Linked DNA regions of Homo sapiens: region 2 is linked to region 1. The links are contacts of gene promoters, found by promoter capture Hi-C in blood cells and fetal thymus (Javierre and others, 2016). All regions are on one chromosome and are shown on one strand. Each heading gives the region's core, a stretch centred on a gene start or on the middle of the fragment in contact. The rest is flanking DNA. Distances are from core to core; before and after follow the strand shown.

Region 1 (6,519 bases), core at 2,180-4,679:
TATCCATCCTTTGGCTATTCCCATTTTGAAGGAACATAGAATTTTAGGGCTGTAAGGTTTTAGTTCATTTGGTTCTATCATCTCATTCCACAGATACAAAAACTGGGGTGCAATGATGTTAAGTGACTTGCTCAGGTACTACCGGGCTGAGTAATCTTTTTGGTCAGAACAACTTGCTCTAAACATAAAACAAGATACTTTTGAGAATGCAATTGGAAAACAGTTCTCAACGTCAGAAAACAAATATAGCAACAATTGCAATATACGGTTCTAAACAATATGCAATCTACCCAGTTTATTTCCATGGTGACAACTTAAGCATTAAAAATAGAAGGCAAATATAGCAAAGGATGAAATAATTGATAAATAGAAAATAAAAAGTCCCCACAAACATCCTAGCAAGTAAGAGTTATGAATCTCAAACAACAAAGAATTTCCAAGTCACCTGAACTGTCACTGTAGCATCCACATGAGAAGAAACCACTTCTGGCCGGGTGCGGTGGCTGACACCTGTAATCCCAGCACTTTGGGAGGCCGAGGCAGGCAGATCACAAGGTCAGGAGTTTGAGACCAGCCTGACCAACATGGTGAAACCCCGTCTCTATTAAAAATACAAAAATTACCCGGGCGTGGTGGCACACGCCTGTAATCCCAGCTACTCAGGAGGCTGAGGCAGAAGAATCGCTTGAATTGGGGAAGAGGAAGTTGCAGTGAGCCGAGATCGGGCCACTGCACTCCAGCCTGGGTGACAGAGCGAGACTCTGTCTCAAAAAATAATAATAAAAAGAAACCACTTCCATGGAATCAGAGAGATGGTTCCATATTAGCCATGACTTCTGCTGCTCTTTTGAGAATGTGGGCTTACTACCTAATCATTTTAAGATGCCCATGGGCACTTTTACTTAGATACATGCACTTTCTCTTTGCACTAGTGAGTCTACGTGAATATTACATGCCAGAGGAACGTTAAAGTCTACGCTAACAATGCTTCATTTTTCTTTAACAATTTTGTCCAGGTCATGGAGACATTTTTGTGGAGTGATAAATTAACTTGGTCTCCTGATGTGTTTTCCCCACATGCCTTGGAAAATCACTTGTTTTTCTGAGAGGTGGTAGTCATCAAAGCCTTAACTTCAGCAACAGCTTCGCTGTTTTAGCTTTGTTATAATTAAGATACCCTAGTACCATTGATAGTTTAGGATATTTGATATGAATGTAATGCAAAAATATTTTTGGCCCTTTGTATATAGCAATGGTCTCAAACTATGAGCAAAATTATGGCTAAATCAGATTTTCAAAAATGGATTTTAAGAAATTCCAGGAGGTAGGAACCTGGTTAACTCATGTGACTTTAAAAATCAGATCTCTGCCAACAGCCCAATTCAGTTTCCTAAGAATAAATTTTTAAACTTCCTGTATCAATGCCTTAACTCAGTTTCCCTTCTCCATGTGTCACTCTCATTAACTTTTGTTGTGCGTGATTTTTTTTTTTCTTTTTTTGACGGAGTCTAGTTCTGTTGCCAGGCTGGAGAGCAGCGGCGTGATCTCGGCTCCCTGCAACCTCCGCCTCCCAGGTTCAAGCGATTCTCCTGCCTCAGCCTCCCGAGTAGCTGGGACTACAGGCACGTGCCACCACGCCCGGATACTTTTTTGTATTTTTAGTAGAGACGGGGTTTCATCATGTTGGCCAGGATGGTTTCGATCTCCTGACCTTGTGATCTGCCCGTCTCGGCCTCCCAAAGTGCTGGGATTACAGGCGTGAGCCACCGCGCCTGGCCTGTGTGTGATTTTATGCAGGCTGGACACCAGTATCCTAGAATAAGATGATCTGGATTCTATCCTGATAAACTGGATCAAACAGGTACTCATCTGATGCAGGTGAAACTCCAGTGCAGGAACTTCTATGATAACATTAACTGAACATAATTTTAATTGAAATGATCTACTTTTATGTTTCTTTAGATGTGAACATTAATTTTTCTCTTAATCTTCTGTTAACTAATTTCTTGGTAATGTACTCAAAAGAGCTTTCAACCAGTCTTCCCATGTAAGAAGTTATCACCATACTCACTCTGTTACTTTCCCTTATACTGCACACTTTGCTCAGCAATGAATTGATCCCTGATTTACACATCAAGCTGAGCTCTCACATCCTAAATATATCTATTCTTTTGGAATTTTAGGTATTTGGCAAATATTGAAGCGTTGGGGAGATTAAAGAGAATCAAACACAACACTAGCAGACTCAACTACAATCCACAGAGGAAATAACCAAATAAGTTGCTATTTTAAACAATTTAAGCAAATAGAAGGAAGGGATTTCAGAACTCACAGTATCTATAGGCAAGAAAATAACTGAAGCAGTGATGCTTAAAAAGACTTGGTGAGGGTTAATACTTGAATCCCTATAAAATACAGTATTTTATAGTATTTGACAACACAGGTGTGAAGGTGAGCATGGATAACCAGTTTTCTTCTCTAAGCAGGCAATAAGAATGTTAAATATAAATAAGACTTCATATAATATAAAGAGTGAAAGACTGAAAGCATTGTCTTACGACTACTGTATTATTTAAAGAACTACATCTATATCAATTAAATGTGGCAGGACAGAATGTACAGTACAATACTGGGGGTGCAAGATTTTAAAATGAGGAACAGGCCAAAATCTAAACACAGAATCGTCCAAAAAAAAAAAAAAGCCTTCAAGTAGAAAAAGTTTTCAATAACAAAACATGGTAGTTAAACGCCTGCGTCTAGTAACATGAGTTGGGGAAAAAACATTAATAGCAGATTAATGAAACAGATTCTGTGCGAGGTCAGGGTAGGGAGTGATGGCGCGCGGAAGCGGCGTAAGAGCTGGTTTCGCCGTCCCAGAAAGGGTTCCACATCCACACGCCTGTACTGCGGCCCTGCGGGGAGCGTTCAGACCCCTCCGTTTCCCTTCACCATTGTAAACGCGCAATCCCATTAAGATCCCGTTCACTCCAATTCCTGGAAAGAAGCTTAGAACGGTGAATCTCTTCCTCGGAGTTGAAAATCAACTTCCAGTGCCGGTCACCCAATCCTTCAAAAATCCTAGCCCTCTCGGGCCCAATTCCTAAAGAATTCAAGCCTGCACCCTGTACACCCTGACCGATCTCAGCTCGTCCCCACTCCGCTCCCAGCGTCCCCAGCTCTAAACGCCGCCGCGTGGCTCAGCGCTGCCCAAGCCGGGCCCTGAAGGCCGCGCACAACGCCCCGCCCCCGGCGAGCGTGGCGGAAGTAGCTCGCTCGGGCTGGGAGAGCGCGCGCCACCTGGCCAAGCGCGCATGCGCCCGCACTGCCAGTGCGGGGGGCGTCCGTATCGCTTACTCCTCAGTCTCCGCAACCCCCGCCCCACCGAGAGTCGGGCTCACGCCATCTTGTACCCCCCCCATCGCCCCGTCACACAGCCGAGTCACCTTTTCCCTTTCTACACTCCACACTCTCAGTCCCCCACCCCGCCCCTTTCCAAGCGTGTCCCGGGCCGCAGCAGCAGAAACCGCACCATCTCCACCCCCACATTCTCCTCGCGGGAAGCGCAGCAGTGCCTCCAAGGGTTCTTAAAGCAGAGGTTGTAGGGCTTGCGGGGGGCGGTGCGGGGATTCGGGCGGGGGAGACGTCAGAGAGCCGGGAGGGACGCAGAGCGGAGATCCCAGCGTCGCTGGGCCCCCGCGCCGGCCACGCCCTGGCCCCGGCTCGAGGGCGGCTGCCTGGGTCTTCGTGGTCTACGCCGGAGTGTTGAAGGGAGGGCGGCTGTGGGAGGCGCTGGCCGGGCGCAGCGCCCTGGTTCCGCTGCCGAGCGTGGAGTTGCCTCTCGACTCCTCCCTTTTGGCGGGTGGGCGTGGGGTGAGGGGGGCTGGGCTGTGCTGAGAAGCGGGGTGCGCGGGTCGTCTAGGTAGTGTGGGGGCTGCCGGAGGAATCATTAAAGAGGGAAATTGTTGCTTTATGGCACGGCGAGAGAAGAGTTAGGTAGTTAGTGGGAGTGTAGCATCCAGAAAGAGGAAAAGATCCGCTGTGTTCTCTGTGGGGTGAGCTCACGTCTGTGACCCCTGGGGAAATTATTTAGCTTGTCTTTGCCTTGTTTTGGTCTGTAAAATGGCGATCTTATAGCCTATTTCAGAATTGTGAGGATTATATGAGAAAATACACGTTAAACGCTTAGAACAGCGCCAGGTGCTGCTCAGTACATATTAGCTCTGCTTTTGCTCTCCACGTTTTAGGAGTTCAGAATGACTGTGACCTTATTTTCTCAGAGAATCAGGACACTTGGTCTCACACGTGAGAGTGAAGTTATGAAGACAGTGATATGTAATATTTGACACTCAGACGATCCTGGACGTAGTATTACTGTACACGTGGATAAATTAGCATTTCTCCAAGAGGCTAATAGAAATGTTAAGTTATTTCGGTAGAAAGAAATGTGTGTGTATATATATGTATATACATATGTGTGTATATAAGTATATGTATGTGTATATATGTATGTATGTATTTGGAAGGAGAGGACCTGGGGTCTTAGTATATGTGAAGGGCAGACTCTGGAAGAGGAATTAAATTCGCCCTGCAAAGATTTACTTGAAGGACAAAACTTGGGGAATTTCTGGTGAATGTTTCAAAGAGGCTGAATTTGCCTATGAGAAACAGTTCGTGAGAGTACTTTGCAAGAATGGAATGCTCTTCATTGTGCTATGGAAAGTTTCTTATCTCAGGATATTCGGGACGTTGGAGCGAAGTATGCCTAAGTCTAGGGCTGCACTTTTCACTAGCAGTTTCTGCCTTGATGGAGATGTTCCATAATCTGTGCCTTTAGGCACTAGTGGTAGCCTAGGCACAGTGGCTCTTCAGCACTTGAAATGTGATAAGTGTCACTGAGGAACTTAATTTTTAATTTTATTCATAAATTAATAAATTGATTTACGTTTAAATACCCACATGTGGCTAGTGGTAGCTACTGCATTGGACAGCACAGGGCTACAATTTAGATTTTGAGAGTCCTTCCGAGTCTTGATATGGTTGAGTTTTAAATCAGATAAGCCAGCTCTTTGGAACATTTATTGCCATAGGGAATTGTAATTATATTCAAATAATGCCTTTCATTCAAATACTGCAGTTCAGACCATGGGTCTGTTAGTACTTATTTACATCTTGACAAATTAAAGCAAAACGTTGTCTCCTAGGTTGTACAGCTAATGCCAGATTCAGAGAGCTATGACAGTATTAACTGGAGTTTTCTTTAAACATTATTGTACTATTTTGTGATTGTCGGTTTCTGCTATCTTTTACCACTTTGGTTGGTTTTTCAGTGAGAAGTTTCCAGCTCTTATTCAAGTTTTTTTCTTTTTTAACCTTTTGTGTAATAAAGCGATTTGAAAAATTGTAACTCTTGAGCATTAGGACATTTTAGAACTAGTTTTATGGTTATCCAAATCTTTTGGAGAGATAAGTGAAATTAGGTAATAGATGTTTCACAAAATTACTTTACTTGAAATATGTGCATCTGTTTTTTTTTTTTAAAGCAAGTGTATATAAAGTCAAATTTGAAAATAAAACTAAAAGAACAAATAAAAAACCTTTATAGGTAGCGGTAGCACCCTTAACCTTGGCCTGATGTCTGTAAAATGGTGCCCTTGGGCCAGGCACGTTGGCTCATGCTTGTAATCCCAGCACTTTGGGAGGCTGAGGCCAGAGGATCTCTTGAACCTAGGAGTTCAAGGCTGCAGTGAATCATGGTCAGGCCAGGCTTCCAGCCTGGGCTGCAGAGGGAGACCTTGTCTCTTTAAAAAAAAAAATGATGCTCTTGGTCTTAAGGCTGAAGATAATTGTTAGATCTGGAGCAATAACTTAAAGCTCACGAGTTAAATCAGATGGAGAGAATAGCTCATAATATACAAATCAGAATGGGGTGCTTTTATGGGTGACTATAGTATCTTAATTTTTCTGAGACAGTCGTAGTATAAAGCCTGATTGTTCCAGCACAATTATTTTATTTAATAGAACCCCTTTCACTATCAAAATGTTCGAATTGGGACCACATCATAATGTCACCCTACTGTTAGCCTTGTTGGGACTTGTAATATATAGTTTTAGGATGATTAACCACATTGCAATATCAGAAATACTTTATTATTTTTGAGATGGAGTTTCACTCTTGTTGCCCAGATTGGAGTACAATGGTGCGATCTCAGCTCACTGCAACCTCCCCCTCCTGGGTTCAAGCGATTCTCCTGCCTCAGCCTCCCGAGTAGCTGGGATTACAGGCACATGCCAGCATGCCTGGCTAATTTTTGTATTTTTTGTAGAGACAGAGTTTCACTATGTTGGCCAGGCTGGTTTTGAACTCTTGATCTCAAGTGCTCCACCCGCCTCAGCCTCCCAAAGTTCTGGGATTACAGGTGTGAGCCACCGTGCCCGGCCAGAAATATACTTTAAAACAGTGACAAAATTACTGTTTTTGTGTCTAAATAATAAATAAGATACCTGGAATAAGGCCAGCAA
Region 2 (6,519 bases), core at 2,669-5,168, 280 kb before region 1:
GCCTACTAGATTTGGATGGACTATTTAGAATGCATCTCCCAACCCCTCTCAGCCACTCCCTATGACTTGCCCCAGGAAAACCCTTTGCCTAATTCTTGGTCCCCCTTTAATACATTTTAGGTAATATCTAAATTTATTCATTGATTCATTCAAGAAATACTTATTGAGCACCTACTGTGTGCCAGGCAGGATGCTCCATAGTGCACAAAACCAAGCCTAAATTCTGTCCTCATCATGGGACAGATGATGTGCAGAAAATAGTCATACAAAACAAATGTGTGATTGCAACAGTGACAGAATCTACATGTTATAAGCTAAACATACAAGAGGAGGATAAAAAATCCCTTCTAAATATGAGGATCTGACCTCTGGAAGGTTCTTTGAGGGAACTCTGCTTGAGTGGAGTTCTGAAGGATTAGTAATTAAGTAGGAGGGAGGAGAGAACACTGAAGCATGAGCAAGGGCCTATGGCAGGAGGGAGTATTGCAAATGTGTGGAACATCTGGAGAAAGCCAGTGTGTCTGGAGTGGAGAGAGCCAAGGGAAGAAGGCATGAGGTATAATGATGCTCAGGAGAGGAGTACTATATGATTTACACTGCCAGTTATCACTCAATATCTATTCTCCCCTTCTTCCTCCATTTTTGGTGGGCTATGGCCACTTGGAAAAAAATATTATTACATTTTCCAGCCTCTCTTTCAGCTACCTGTAGCCATGTGACTAAATTCTGCACAGAAGGATGCAAGTAGAAGTGCTGTGTGCAATTCCTCCTTCCTGTGAGCTGAGATTTGGTTGCAATGGCTGGAGCTCAAGCAGCCCTCTTGGATTGTGAAGTGAAAACTGCATACTAAGGATGACAGAGCAGATAACTCAAGTAGTCTGAGTCCCCCATCACTTTAAGGAGTTGCTGTGCCAATCCTCACTGGTTGAAATGCAGACTCTTCACATAGAAAAGAAAACCTTATCTATTCAAACCCCTATTAACTTGGGTTTTCTGTCACTCATAGCCAAACCAAATCTTGATCTACATGACCTTGTCAGACTTGTTAGAGGTTTTGCCTTTATCCCAAGAGCAATGTGAAGCTTTGAAAGAGTATTAAGCTTAAATGTGCATATGCGTGTATGTGTCATGATCAGTTTTATATTTTGAAAATTTTACCTGCCTGCCGGTGGCAGGTTGGGAAGACAAGGGTAGAGAGAATAGAAACAGTAGAAACAGGAGGTTGCAGTTGCAGGTGAGAAATTATAAAATGGCAGTGGCTTTTGCTAGGGTTGTGGCTCTGGAGATACAGAGAAGTAGATTCTAGAGATAGTTGGGATGTGGAAACAACAGGACTTACTATTGTTAGGGATGTGACGCAGTGTGGGGAAAGAAGGCCTCAGAGAAATGGGTCCCCTACCTGGCTGGGGCTTCAGTGCAAGGTTCCAGAAATCCTGGCTCCAGAAGGGGAACTTTCCCTTTCTTATTCTTTGGAATATGGGTGGCCCCTTCCCAGCCCACACCCAGCCCTCGAAAATAGCTCAGCTCTGACACACCTCACCAGAGGCAGCCCTCAGAAACATTTTCCCAGGAACCTGGAAGGAGGAGAAAGTCGATAGCCTTGGGGGACTGGAAGAGAAGAGGAATGGAAAGAGGAACAGACCTGTCTTCAGGAGAAGCAACATCTCCCTGCACTGCAACCAGGCCATTGCCTTTGATGGTTCAGACTTGGCTAAGTTGCTGCCTGCTCTCTTCAGAAGCACCGGCATACAAAAGGGAGGGCTGAGTGTCTGATGAACTCAGCCCAATAATATTCACTTCTTTTATTTTCCAGGAATGTCATGAGACCCACAGGGCAATCTTCTGGTTTTAAGACCTGGTGAGTCAAGTCTACAAATACCTCTGACTCAATCTGATCCCAAGTTCTCACCAGGCATCTCCTAGGAACATGGCTCAGCAGGAGAGCTGGAACTGACCAGCCCTCTGCAGGGAACAGGAGGGTTGGTTTCTCTGCTTTGGGGTTTGGGGAGGGAGGGGGTGAGAAGGGCTGGCTGCAGTGGAAATGATGGGATTCTTGACTTGACACTGACCATGCTCACAATAAGAGCTGACATTTATTGTGTACTCTCTAACTCCAAGCCATGCGTTATCTCTTCTAATCTTCACAGAAAACTAGAAGTGGTTTCTGTCATCAATCCCATCTTACCATTGAGGAAATTGAGGCTCGGCTATGTTAGGAACCCTGGTCACTGGCACAGAGCTGTGATATGAACCAAGGCAGCTGATGCCAAGGCTATTCCATGTGAGGGAGGGCATGTGCTTTCTAGAGTTTTTGCAGGCATGGGAGGAGGACTGAGGAAAGCTAATATTTGAGGAGGGTCTGCTACACTCTAGGCCAGTTATATGCCACCTTGACTGCACATTAAAATCACCTGGGGAGTTTTATAAACACTATCGGTGCCCCTGACCAATTAAATCAGTATCTCTAGGAGTCATACCCAGACATCCTAGGTTTTAAAAGTTCTCCAGGTGATTCTAATATGCAATAAGGTCTGCTCAATAAAAGCAAGTTTCATGTTTTTTATTTTTTTTTCATTTAATGACCCTATATCCATTTGTAAATGGGGAAGCTGAGGCTCACAGAATTTGGATGGCTTGCACAAACCCCATGGCTGATAAGACCCATGTCTTGATCTATATCTGGCTGATTCCAACACCCATGTTTGTTCAGTTCATTCCATTCTCTCTCATATTTGGGCATCCTCTATTTTGAAAACATGTGATTTTTTTCTATTATAAATTTCTTTTACAATTTTCATTTTGTTTGTTCAAGTCCAAGTGCTGTTTAGGTCAGCTGCCTGAGAGTAGCAATGCAGTCTATAGCCACTGAGTCAGGAGGGTTGGCCCAGGGGCAGCTGAAACCACGGCCTTGGCTTCATCCAGGCTCTGCTGCAGCCAATGGACCAGGATCTCCGAAGAGATGTCCAGGAGCCCTGGCTGGGAGGTGCCCACTGACTCTCCCAGGCAGAATACTGGCCATCTTCTGTGGCTTTGACCCCTAAGGGGCCACCATCTGAGAATGAGAAGGCCCAGCCCTGGGGAAATCCCTAGTCTCTGTTTCTAGCAGTGCTAGTGATTTCCCAAGGAGTGACATTAGAAAAGTCATCACACATTTATTTCTGTATATATCATTCAGAGCCTAATTTTCTGGTGGCTGAGGGTTGAGCTCATCAGAAACAGACTTCATCATCAATTGATAATAAAGCCAAGTCAAGACAAGGGAGAAGGGCAGCCATCCAGATGGATTCAAGCAGCCAAGAGGTGCTTCTGCTCAAAGACTACCTTTAAAGAAGGGAAGAGAAAGAAGTGAGAGCAGATACCTGTACACCCATGTTCATAACAATATTATTCACGAGAGTCAAAAGGTGGAAGCAACCCAAGTGCCTATCCATGAATGAAAGAATAAACAAAATGTGGCACAAACATACAATGGAATATTGTTCAGCTTTAAAAAGGAAGGAAATTTTGATATATGCTACAAGATGGATAAACTTGGAGACCTCTGCCAAGTGAAATAAGCCAGTCACAAAGGCCAGTACACAAAACATTGTATGATTTCTTTTGTATGAAGTTCCTGGAGTGGTCAAATTGATAGAGACAGAAAGCAAAATGAGGGGGAGTTAGTGCTTAAAGGATACAGAGCTTCTGTTGGGAAGGATGAAGTTCTGGTGATGGTTGCCCAACTGTGTGAATGTACTTAATGCCACAGAACTATGTACTTAAAAATGGTTAAAATAGTAAATTTCATGTTGTGTATACTTTACCACAATAAAAAGGTGGAGGAGAAGTTTGACACCTTAATTCACAATTTTGTCCAAGCACTTGAAAGATCTATATATGGCATTACCATAAATGTTTATAAAATGGGAATGGGAAGAGCTGATAAAATAAATTGCTATGGAGAACATGATAGATCAGGTATGGGTTAAGCACCCCGGAGGCTCCTGAGGATGAGGATTACTTACCCAGTCCTGGACTCTAACTAAACATTAATGCCTCCTCAAAGATGTCTGGTTTTTTAGTCATCAGGGTGTCAAATTCTAGTAAAATGGCTTTGTTGAGACTGTGTGGATGCAGGTTGGGAGAAAGTAAAGTCTAGAGCCTGACACTTTCAGAACCACTCTTACACTCATCTGCATTATAAGCAAAGTGTTGCAACCTCCAAGCATTTCACAGCCAACCTTCTGGCTCAGGTCACTCATTCCCACTGGCAACACTGGCAAGTGTTTGGGTCAAGAGCTCCATGGTCCTCACCCAACTTCCAGACACCTCATCCCTTTATTGCTCACCCTACTCCAACTATTCCTTGAAGGCACCAAGCACATTCCCACCTCAGTGCCTTTACACTTGCTGTTCCTGCTGCCTGAAATGCTCTTCCCTCAGATATCTGCAGGCTGTCTCCCTCATCTCCGTCAGCCTTCACTCAAAGTCACCTTCTCAAGTGTGCTTTTCTGGCCACCCTAGTTAAAAGTGCCACCCTCCACTCTACCACATCATCTTCCTGTCCCCCTTGCTCTGACCACAGATGCTATCACTGTTCCACTCATATCCCCAGGGAATATGCCAGTGGAGGAAATTGCATGTGCAAATGCATGAGGCTTGGAAGACTGTGGCCTCAAAGGCCGTCTGAAATGGCTGGAGTGGAGCGTCCATGGGGCTGGGGGACTTCATGGAATGGCTTAAAGGGTAACGGAGGACAGAAGGTTGAGGGAGTTTGTCTACCAAGCTAAGGAATTTGAACTTTAGCAGGCAACGGGGAGCCACCAAAGGGTTTTAAGTAGGAAAGTAATAGATTTGATTTGCCTTTTAAAAAGATTACTTTGGCAGCCAGTGGAGTGGAGGCTGAAATGGATGGGATGAGGCTGGAGGCGAGAAGACCAAATGTAAAAGTAACATCTTGAACATTGATGAGCTCAAATGATGTTGCAGCAGAAGTGAACATAAGAGTGACATCCAGCCAGCCAGTATTGGAAGCAATTTTTTTTTTCTAGGAATAGATTGAATTTCAGCAAAAAGAAACTTTCCTGCCACCCTTTATGACAATCCTGTGAACGCTGGCTCCTGCCCTCATTCAAGTTGGCCACCCTTGGTCTTTCATGCATCACCATTCAATAAAAGCAAGCATGGGTTTTATGGGATTGTTTGGAGAGCCCTGAGCCAAAGTTTTCTACTCACTTAGGCAAGGCTGTTCTGCCAATTCTTAAATTGGCTGTTTTTTACATATAGGGTGTGAAAGATATCTCTATGCATCTCTAGGAACACACCCATTTGGAAGGAGACATATGTGACTATATATAATATCTTTATGTGCTTTTTGAAGGGATGTTTATACAACTTGCATATTATTTGGCATGAATATTTTTGTAGAATGGAGAAAGGGAGAGACAGCATGAGAAAGCTATTCCTATGCCATAACTGACTTTGGCTCATGAAACGAAATGCAAAATAGATTATGTTCCTTAGCAATGCCTCCTGGGTTGAATGGCTCCCAAGTCAACCCACTTAATCCTTCCTCCTGGAGGGTCACTCACCTTTGAACCTTCTTTTCTAAAACTACCATTAAAAAAAAATAACAATGATGTAGCCCAGTCCAGGCCCTACTGAAACCCAGGCTCCCTACCCCCAGAGGAAGAGCTCACCAAAAGAGTCATCTAGCTTCTAAAACTCGGGTTGCTTGAAGAACTTGATGGAAAGAGCAGGGTAGTAAAAGACAGCATTTTGGCTTTAACAAGGCTAGGAAGCCTAGAGTTGGGCCAGCTGTATAGTCTGAACTAACCCAAGAATATTAGAAGCCGGGGTCACATGGAGCTAGGACACCACCATTAATGTGGGGAGCAGAGACAGTCTGGCGAGGAGCGGAGGGAACGACTGCAGCCCCCTGCTGCCAGCTCCCACGTGAGTCAACCAGGAGGACGGGGGGACAGCTAGGATAGGCAGGCAGGAGGACTGATCCTGCAGGGTGAACGGGCAAGCTGCGCCCAGCCGTATGGAGTTCACTTGGGCCCTCTTCACACCATCAAGCTCCAGGACTTCCGGGGGGAGCCAAGGGTGACAGATGTGTCAGCCGGGACAGGCACCTCAGAGAAAAAGCCTCCTTGGTTTGTTCCATGGTGTTCCCTTGCCAAGTCCCCAACCCACACTGAGCAACCAAGCAGTAGGACACCCCATCTGGAGAGGAGGGAGGTGATGGCTCCATTCCCCAAAGCAATAGGCAGCAAGGTTTCCGACAAGGATGTTCAGTAAGTCAGCGGAACTGGCTGAGTCCTCTAGCACCTTCCATTTGCTTGGGGAATAAAGTAACACTGCCCAGCCCTGGACACACTTGGTAAACATCTGGTAAGAGGATAATCCTATTTCAGCATTCCATGGTGCCCTGGGAGCAGACGCTGGCTCTTAACAATTGATGCCTCTGGTGTCTGTTGCCACCTCTTACCACCATGCCCTTGCACTTAGAAGCAAATAATCCCAAGAGATGGCAGG

Evidence for each region. The method cuts DNA at HindIII sites, captures the fragments that hold promoters and counts their contacts. A CHiCAGO score of 5 or more calls a contact.
Region 2: a fragment that was not itself captured here is called in contact with the fragment with the promoter of SUPT3H in region 1 in 2 of 17 cell types (endothelial precursors and neutrophils); the score reaches 5.3 in endothelial precursors.

The regions. Positions count from the first base shown.
Region 1 is chr6:45,374,844-45,381,362 of GRCh38, reverse strand. SUPT3H (SPT3 homolog, SAGA and STAGA complex component) reads left to right here and starts at 3,429. Exons shown (of 11, transcript NM_003599.4): 1 at 3,429-3,595. The region is part of intron 2 of RUNX2 (RUNX family transcription factor 2); the gene reads right to left. RefSeq lists silencers at 3,138-3,187, 3,508-3,787 and an enhancer at 2,954-3,497. The HindIII fragment of the contact is 7,128 bases long and covers 3,008-6,519 here.
Region 2 is chr6:45,651,368-45,657,886 of GRCh38, reverse strand. No RefSeq gene overlaps it. Among named protein-coding and RNA genes, the nearest start is that of RUNX2-AS1, 78 kb to the right of the region's middle. RefSeq lists an enhancer at 992-2,191. The HindIII fragment of the contact is 5,632 bases long and covers 1,103-6,519 here.